Linked DNA regions of Homo sapiens: region 1 is linked to region 2. The links are contacts of gene promoters, found by promoter capture Hi-C in blood cells and fetal thymus (Javierre and others, 2016). All regions are on one chromosome and are shown on one strand. The core of a region is centred on a gene start or on the middle of the fragment in contact, and the rest is flanking DNA. Distances in the headings are between cores, read along the strand shown.

Region 1 (4,760 bases), core at 2,261-4,760, 71 kb after region 2:
TAGATGCGAAAATATTTTGAAAACTATAAAATGCAATTTAAATGTGAACGTCATCTGCAAATCCATGAGCAAGAACAGGAGAAACATGGACAAAGGGCGCGCAGGCCACGGTGCGGGGGAGTGTGGGGTCTCAGAGCACGGGGAGCTACTCAGCGGCCTCTCGGGCGACAGGGAAGCGCACACAGATCCGCAGGGAGGGGCAGCTCACAGCGCTGACGGGCAAACAGGGAAAATCCCCAAGAAATGATGGTCTGCAGGCAGGAGGGGCCGCTGGGGGCCTGGAGGGATGAGCAGGGCAGGAATCCCAGCTTCCACACTCAAGATACCATGGTCATGGAAGAAGCGACACACCATGGCACTGCCAAGGACACACTACTAAAAATGTATTAACAGTTGCACTTGTTTTAAAATTATCAGAAACAATTCAAACTTGCTTTAAATCAGGGGTGTGCACTCTTGTGGCTTCCCTGAGCCACAGTGGAAGAAGAATTGTCTTGGGCCACACATAAAATACACTAACATTAACGATCGCTGATGAGCTAGAAGGAAAAAGATTGCAAAAAAAACTCAACATATGTTTTAAGAAAGTTTACAAATTTGTGTTGGGCCTCATTCAAAGCCGTCCTGGGCCACGTACAGCCTGCAGGCCACAGGTTGGACAAGCTTGCTCTAAGTGAGAGGAATAATGTGTGACGAGTGGACACTGAGTTTTGCTGGGCCCTGGTCTCTGCCACCTGGCACGTGGGGACAGGTGGATAACACTGAAGTCACTGCAGAGGCAGCTGTCTCCTCTTTTGCTCCAAAAGAGACCCAGTAACCACTGTGCCACCAGGAAACACCAGGGTTCCCAGGAAACACTGCAGGTTCATTTTAAGGCCCTGGTCCCTGGGAACCTTAGTGCTGCAGTACAGGATGGAAGACATCGTTCCCAGCCTGGGCAGCGTGGCAAAACCTCATCTCTACAAAAAATACAAAATTAGCCAGGCATGGTAGCATGCACCTGTAGTCCCAGTTACTCAGGAGACCGAGGTGGATCCCTTGAGCCCAGAAGGTCGAGGCTGCAGTGAGCCATGACTGAACCACTGCACTCCAGCCTGGGCAACAGAGCAAGACCCTGTCTCAAAAAAGAAAAAAAAGAAGGAAATTGTTCCCAAAGTGTGTGAAGCCTGTAATAAGCAGGCAGAGACCACAATGGCTCCACTTCACAGAACTGACGTCGATTTTTATTATTTTATTATTATTATTATTTGTCTGTTTGAGACAGGGTATGGCTCTGTCACCCAGGCTGGAGTGCAGTGGCGCGATCTTGGCTCACTGCAGCCTCGACCTCCCAGGCTCAGCGATCCTACCACCTCAGCTTCCCAAGTAACTGGGACTACAGGCACGCTCCACCATGCCCGGCTAATTTTTGTAGTTTTTGTAGAGATGGGGTCTCACTCTGTTGCCCAGGCTGGTCTCAAACTCCTGGGCTCAAGGCAATCCACCCACCTCAGCCTCCCAAAGTGCTGAGATTAGAGGTGTGAGCCCCTGCAATCTATTTTTAGATGGGGGCCTGAAATCTGTTTTTAGATGAGAAAGTCAAAGCCATTATCTTCTCCTTCAATAAGGACGTGTAAGTAGAAGTTTGGAACAAGCTTACATTTAATTTGAAAACTCCAGGTGAAAGTTAAGACCCCCTGTTTACAGAAACCGAGTGAGGCTGTGGAATAGCTTGTATCCTACTGTCGAATATGGATGAACACACTTGGGTTTCAGAAATCACGTGAATTCAGAGGCTTCTTTCCTGACGCTTCGTGTACTCACCACTTTTGCAGTGCCCACTTTAAAGGAGTGCTGGTGGATGGTCCATGAAGAAGCATTGAACACGGTCACCTTGCCTTCGCTCAGAGCACACCATAACTTGGGGTGAGCATCTTCAACTTTTTCGGCTGGGTCAAGATGCCCTAAAGAGGAGAGCAGCACAAAACTGTTAGGAGGAAACACTTCTGCTGTAGCAGCAGGTGACTGGTGCCCTTACTCAGGTGCCTCCTGGGCCCTCCTAAGCGCCAGGCCCATGTTAGGTGCTGTACGTACAAAGACGTGCCCAGGCAGAGGCTTCCCTGCCCTCTGGGAGCTCAGAGTCAAGGGGGGCAGCTGGCTGGTGAGAGGGCCACAAAGACAGGGTCAGAGCCGCAGGCAGATGCAGAGCCGAATGCCTGTGAGCTTTGCTAAGCCAGGACCTGCCAGCTGAGTGAGCATTCACTAGAGGAAACAGCCAGGCAGAGGGAACTGGAAGAGGAGCAGGTGGACACAGAGGGAGGGAGGCAGGGAGGGAGGGCAGCTGGAGAGACGGCGGCAGGGGCCATGGTGCCCCCCACACCCTCATGTGCAGCGGGCTCCGCGTCTTTCCCAACACTTGCTGGCGTCCGTCCATCTTTTTAATTTCGGCCATTCTAAGGGTGTGGAGCTTTTGGCTTTTAAATTGTGGTTTAATTGCATTTCTCTAATTGCTAATGAGCCTGATGGCTTGAACTGGCCATCCCCATGCCCTCTTGTGGGAAGTGTCTGTTTTTCGTTCTCCCTAGTTTGTGGCTGTTATTTTTTTTTATTTTTATTTTTTTTTACTTTTTAATAGACGAGGTCTTGCCATGTTGCCCGGGCTGGAGTGCAGCAGTGTTCACAGGTGCGATCACAGCAAACCACAGGCTCCGAGTCCAGGGCTCTGGCCACCCTCCCACCTCACTGGGACCACAGGCACGCCCGGCCAGCTGTTCCGGTGTTCTGGATATGAGCCCCTAACTGACTCCATGGTGCTGTATTCATAAATTACGTATGACATATAAAAATACCATAAAGCAAAAGACTGGTGAATCTGACTACATTAAAAGCAATGATTTTAGCAGCACCCATTTTAAAGATCCTTCCCAGTCTGCAGCTTACATTTTCACCCTCTCAAAAGTGTCTTCTGTCCATTTCCTGTGGCAGGGTCTGGGGAAGAGGCTGTAGGCGCCGTGTCCGGCCATGAAGATGGCAAGAAGCCTCTGAGACAGCCCAAGAAGCAGGCCCAGGAGAGGGACAGAGATGATGAGGCTTCCAGCAGAAAGCAAAACAGACCAGAACCTCAAGGGGCCGAAAGCACAGGCCGCAGGGAGGCCCAGCCACAGCTGGAACTAAGACCCCTGGCGGAAAGCACGCTGCTCCCTCTGCCTGGGCGGTGGCGGCCTGGACTCCACTCCTGTTTCAACACCTGCACCCCCGCCAGGACAGCTTTTGCCATCTTCAGCTAGAGTGAGCGTTGCCCTGGAGCCTGTTGCACTTTCAAGCATAAACTTTTCTTTTTTTTTTTAAATTAAAAAAAAAAAAAAACAAAACAAAAAACTGACAGTGTCACCGGACGTCTTCAGTGGCTTCTCACCCGTCATTCCCACCTGAGCCTGCCAGAGGGCGCTCTTTGGTCTTCTACCCTCAATTTTGTGTCACCGTGAATTAAACCAGCTCATTTGAAAGGAGGAAAAAAAAAGTGTCTTCTTTTTAAAATCATTGCTTTTGGCCAGTTGTGGTGGCTCACGCCTCTAACCCAGCGCTTTGGAGTCCAAAACCGGCAGACTGCTCAAGCTCAGGAGTTCAAGACCAGCCTGAGCAATACGGCAAAACTCCATCTCTACAAAAAAAAAAAAAAAAAATACAAAAATTGGCTGGGCATAGTGGTGTGCACCTGCAGTCCAGCTAATCAGGAGGCCGAGGGCGGAGGATCGCTAGAGCCCAGGAGGCAGAGGTTGCAGTGAGGTGTGATCGCGCCACTGCACCTGGGTGACAGAGTCAGACCCTGTCTCAGAAAAAATAAAAATAATAAAGTCATTGCTTTTAATATAGTCAAATTCAACATTCTTTTCCTTTATGGTATTTTATATATAATTTATGCATTTTTTTCTTTACCATAAAGTCATGAAAATATTCTTCTACCCTATCACCTAGAAGTCTGCTTGCTTTCATTGTTCACATTTGCCTTTTACCACCGCGTTGAGGTTTCGGCCCCCTTGGGCCTGACCGCAGGGCAGTGTGAAGGGGCGAGGTTTCACCTTTCCCCTGAGGATATTCAAGCGACCCCCCGCCCTGCAGTGCTGCCTCCGTCCTGAGTCCAGAAGGGCAGGCCTCCCGGTCTTTCTGGGGTGCGATTCCAGTGGTCTGTTGCTCCCATGGGTGAGACACTGCCGTCTCTGAGAGGCACGCTCCCCATGGGCAGAGCCTGAGCTGACCTGTGGCCTGGCCTCAGGGCTGGTTCTCCTAACTCCTAGGAACCTGTCGGAGACCCAGCCCCAAGCTAATGGGAATAACAAGACTCCCCCTTCTTGATGGGGCCTGACCCCACCTCTTGTCCCTGCAATCTCACAAGGCTTGCAAAAGCCCTGCTCGGCTACCAGCTTCTCGGCCACCCCTTCCAGAATCGGCAGCCACAGGAAAAGGCGGTTTCCCCATTCCCCACGGCTGCTTTGCACGCTCTCTGCAGGCCTTCGAGATGCTCCTGGAGGGGAAGCCGCCTGAACTCCTCGCCCGTCACAACAGGAAGCTCAGAGTGAGTTTCATTTCAGGGAAACCAACCGGGACCTAAAAATACCATGTATTCAAATGCCACGGTCAAAGTATCTTGGTCTGTGGAGTCATCTCTGGCGAAGTCAGCACAGAGCCTGGCTTAGACACATCAGGTAGGGCTCACGCGGGGCGGCCCTGATGACGCTGCCTGCTCACTCAGCCAGGGTCTATCGCGTTCCTGGGTTTCTTGG
Region 2 (4,696 bases), core at 157-2,656:
CCGAACCCCTAGGTACTATAGTCAGAGTTTGGCACATGCGTACATTTTTTTCTGGAGAAAAGGTCTATAATTTCATTTTATTCCCAAGAGGTTTTATAACCTAAAGGCCAATACCACAGGAGTCCAGGTGCCTTTGGGTAGACTTCGAACTCCCCCCGGACAGAGAATCATGCTATGCTCATTCCACCCAGCCTCCTACTTTTCATTTTTCTTTTCTTTTTGTTTTTTTTGTTTGTTTGTTTTTGTTTTTGTTTTTTGAGACAGGGTCTCACTCTGTTGCCCAGGCTGGAGTGCAGTGGTGCGATCTCAGCTTACTGCAACTTCCACCTCCCGGGTTCAAGTGATTCTCCTGCCTCACCCTCCTGAGTAGCTGGTATTACAGGCGCCCGCCACCATGCCTGGCTAATTTTTGTATTTTTAGTAGAGATGGGCTTTCGCCATGTTGCCCAAGCAGGTCTTGAACTCCTAATCTCAGGTGATCCACCTGCTTCAGCCCCCCAATGTGCTGGGATTACAGACTTAAGCCACCGTGCCCAGCTGCTTTTTATTTTTAATTTCCACCTCTCCAGGCAGGGTCTACAGTTTCCCTTTTTGGCTGGGCACGGTGGCTCACACTTGTAAATCCTAGTGCTTTGGGAGGCCGAGGCAGGGTAGATCGCTTGAGCCCAGGAGTTGGATACCAGCCAGGTCAATGTAATGGGGACCCTAGAAAAATTAGCTGGGTGTAGTGGTGCATGCCTGTAGTCGCAGCTACTCGGGAGGATGAGGTGGGAGATCACTTGATTCCAGGAGTTTGAGGCTGCAGAGAGCCATGGTCGTGTGACCGCACTCCAGCCTGGGCAACGGAGCGAGACCTTGTCACTAACAAATTAAACTTTTTTAAACAAAAGTTTTCCCTTTTGATTCTCTTTTGCCTACCTCCCCCACTTTTCCCTTCACCTCCTTACTTCCCTTTCATGATATCTGCAGCCACAAAGGGTGTCGCCAGCTGCCTCCAGCCTGCTGGAATAGTTACGTGCTGTGGTACACAGGGTGGACGATATTGTTACTGGCCAAAGAGTGAATATTTCCAGCGTTTTTCTCTGTCTGTTCTTTGATCCTGCTTTCCTTGATTGCCCCACCTTTGTCCTTCCCCAGGATTCACTTTCGTATGAGAAAATGTTTTTCTAGAAAGTAGGTTTGGTTATTTGCACAGACGTACCCAGAGTGAGTGGCAGAGAGCTGTGTGATCTTGGGTCGGGCCCTCGGGGCACACGGCTTGCTCGGGGGTCGGGCGGCGGTCCACAGGGCCATCTGGTGGCCGTCCCCTGACTCTCTGGCCGGGTTGTTTTCCTCTTTTGCAGATCATCCAGTCACTCGATGGGGATTACCAGCGGACCACCTGTTTGTATCACCTTCCCACCTCTCTGTAGCAAGAAAAATCACTTCAGCACCTCTTCAGTAATAATGATGAAACTGGTATTAACTGAATGGCAATTATGGATTTTTAACTCTAATTCACAGTAAACCAGCAAGCCATATGTTTAAAATCCAACCAAAAATCGTTCTGTGTTGCTGCATGTCTCATACCGTTGTGAGAAGTTGTGAGATAGCCACTTGTGCAAAGAGGAATGTAAGTGTTACCTGCCCGAGGAACACAGCAGAAGCAGAAAGAGAAGACGTCTTAATTTATCATTACAGATATATGAAAGCATTATTTATATAGATAGAATATATAGATAAATACATATATTTTTGGTGGTAATGAAAATGGCTCCGCAGAATGCCGACCCGGAATCTATGCAAGTTCAAGAGTTATCCGTGCCCCTGCCGGACCCGCAGAAAGCCGGAGGCGCAGAGGCCGAGAACTGCGAGACCATCAGCGAGGGGTCCATAGACCGAATCCCCATGCGCCTGTGGGTGATGCACGGGGCGGTGATGTTTGGCAGGGAGTTCTGTTACGCCATGGAAACCGCTCTGGTCACACCAATACTGTTGCAGATTGGTAAGTCTCCTCCCCGTCTGTGCGCAGTGAACGCTGAGCGGAGTGCTAGCGGACTGGGCGTGGCTCTGATCCTCTGGAGGCAGAGGATGGTGCGTCCTGGAGAGCCCCGGGCACTGGAGTCTTTGTCTCCTCTCCCTTCAGCCTGCCCTGATGGTGGTTTTCGTCTCCTGTTTTCAGCCAGGTTTGGGGAGGAGTGATCTTCGGATGTTGACGTTGAATTACAGTTTTGGCAAAGTGGTAGCTCAGCATCTGGGGCAGAATTGGCACTGATAAGTACTGGCTCTCGGCCGGGGCTCACCTCTCCCGCTGTCCCTGCCAGGCCACAGTGAACAACGAGGCAAAGGGCAGGGTCGCCAGCACTGACAGTCACTGGCTGTGTCATGCAGGCGAATTCGGGAGCCCTTCTGTGCCACACTCTGATTCTTTGTGTGTAAAGTGATTGCATTCGCAAACCAACCCTAAGAGGGTCCCAGGTGTGCTTAGAACAGTGCCTGGCTGTGGGAGATACTGGAAGATGCTGTCATCTTATCATTGTTGCTGTTGACTTGAATCCAAGGTTATTGTGGACAGTAGATGGCTCAGAGACAGGCATTTCCAAAAGCATGGAAATTCACAGGCACGCACAGGTGGGCATGAAAACACGGAAAATCACAGACGCACAGGTGGGCATGAAAACACAGAAATTCACAGACACACGCAGGTGGGCATGAAAACACGGAAATTCACAGACACACAGGTGGGCATGAAAACACGGAAATTCACAGACACGCAGGTGGGCATGAAAACACGGAAATTCACAGACCCGCAGGTGGGCATGAAAACACGGAAATTCATAGACTTGCAGGTGGGCGTGAAAACACGGAAATTCACAGACACTCGCAGGTGGGCGTGAAAACACGGAAATTCACAGACACTCGCAGGTGGGCGTGAAAACACGGAAATTCACAGACACAGGTGGGTGTGAAAACACGGAAATTCACAGACGCACAGGTGGGTGTGAAAACACGGAAATTCGCGGACACGCACAGGTGGGCGTGAAAACACGGAAATTCACAGACACGCAGGTGGGCATGAAAACACGAAAATTCACAGACACACAGGTGGATATGAAAACAGAAATTCACAGACACGGGCAGGTGGGCATGAAAACACGGAAATTCACAGACACGCAGGTGGGCGTGAAAACACGGAAATTCACAGACGCACAGGTGGGCGTGAAAACGGAAATTCACAGACGCAGGTGGGCATGAAAACACGGAAATTCACAGACACGCAGGTGGGCGTGAAAACACGGAAATTCACAGACGCACAGGTGGGCGTGAAAACGGAAATTCACAGACGCAGGTGGGCATGAAAACACGGAAATTCACAGATGCACAGGTGGGCATGAAAACACGGAAATTCACAGACACTCGCAGGTGGGCGTGAAAACACGGAAATTCACAGACGCACAGGTGGGCGTGAAAACACGGAAATTCACAGACGCACAGGTGGGCGTGAAAACACGGAAATTCACAGACGCACAGGTGGGCGTGAAAACATGGAAATTCACAGACACGCAGGTGGGCGTGAAAACACGGAAATTCACAGACGCGCAGGTGGGCGTGAAAACACGGAAATTAACAGAGACGCACAGGTTGGCATGACCAGGCTCGCATGGGCAAGATGTGGTGTCTCTTCCAGATTACCGGGCAGCAGAGCGGGGACCCTGTAGGGAGTCCCCACTGGGAGTGTCTTGGGCCCTAAAAATTTTGTCAGAATGTTTATTTTCTTTATGACCTAAGGAAGTTTTAAAAAAATCTGTCATTTTCCAAACCCTTAGCAATATAAGGTATCTGGTAAGAGGCAGACAGTTTAGAAGCATCCGTTTTATTCTAGAATTCAACATATTGCATGGTAAAGTATTTTCAAGCCTACTTATTTTGGTTGTTTTAGGGATGTTTGTTGATACAAACATAATAAAGTGTTTCTTGTTCCGTGAGCGCTCACTCAGCCTCGCTGCAGTGCGGATCCCTCGGTTATGTGCACGGATCTGACTCCAGTGTGAAATCGTAGCATTTTCTTTGATTGTGTGTGGGGCAGCCCCGCTGGCATCAGCACTGATTTCCTGTCACCCTGCCGTGGGAGCTGATGCTGATTATTACCAAAATCACAGGAGATACTGTGTCCATCCCTCGATCTTGTCACTTAATACATTAATGAAAAAGCACTCATCTTACTTTTCCAGTGCTTCCATGATTGTATTTCAGCGTGCTTTTCCGTCTGCAATCCTGTGTCTTTTTTCATCTTTAAAAACCTTGTTTTGAGAAGGCTTCATGAGAAGGCCAGAGGACCTGGGGCTCAGACAAGGTTAGAGGACTCTTCTGGAGGGTCGGGGGCTCGGACGTAGGAGACCGGGCGCAGCTCGCACTCTTGTTCTCTCCTCTGTGTGTGATTCTGCATTTATTCTGCTTGTGCTCCTTGGGTGCCTATCATATCCTAGGGCACGGAGGGTGGACAGAACCCACATCTGTGGGCCAGGGGGCTTAGCTCTGTGGCAGGGGGGGCGCTTCGAGAAAGAAAGTGACCCGACCAGCGAGGGAAAGAAATGGGCTGGACCAGTGTGGGAAGGCCTTCATGGAGAGCAGGGCAAGGGCTCTTGGGCATCACATCCAGAGGCTGAGGGAGGGGAGACCTGGCTGTGTTCGTGGAACTGAAGAACCACTTTCGCGA

What was found. Contacts are between HindIII fragments. The CHiCAGO score rates a contact against its expected background, and 5 or more counts as called.
Region 1: a contact is called between a fragment that was not itself captured here and the fragment with the promoter of SLC45A4-AS1 in region 2, in 1 of 17 cell types (neutrophils). The highest score is 9.1, in neutrophils.

What each region holds. Positions count from the first base shown.
Region 1 is chr8:141,182,322-141,187,081 of GRCh38, reverse strand. It overlaps DENND3 (DENN domain containing 3), which reads right to left. Exons shown (of 23, transcript NM_001352890.3): 18 at 1,804-1,943. Among named protein-coding and RNA genes, the nearest start is that of DENND3-AS1, 55 kb to the right of the region's middle. RefSeq lists enhancers at 1,726-2,680, 3,381-3,520, 3,601-3,650, 4,411-4,520. The HindIII fragment of the contact is 3,747 bases long and covers 1,637-4,760 here.
Region 2 is chr8:141,251,277-141,255,972 of GRCh38, reverse strand. It overlaps SLC45A4-AS1 (SLC45A4 antisense RNA 1), which reads right to left and starts at 1,406. Exons shown (of 2, transcript NR_161376.1): 1 at 1,202-1,406. SLC45A4 (solute carrier family 45 member 4) reads left to right here. Exons shown (of 9, transcript NM_001286646.2): 2 at 1,344-1,984. The coding sequence starts at 1,744. The HindIII fragment of the contact is 11,163 bases long and covers 1-4,696 here.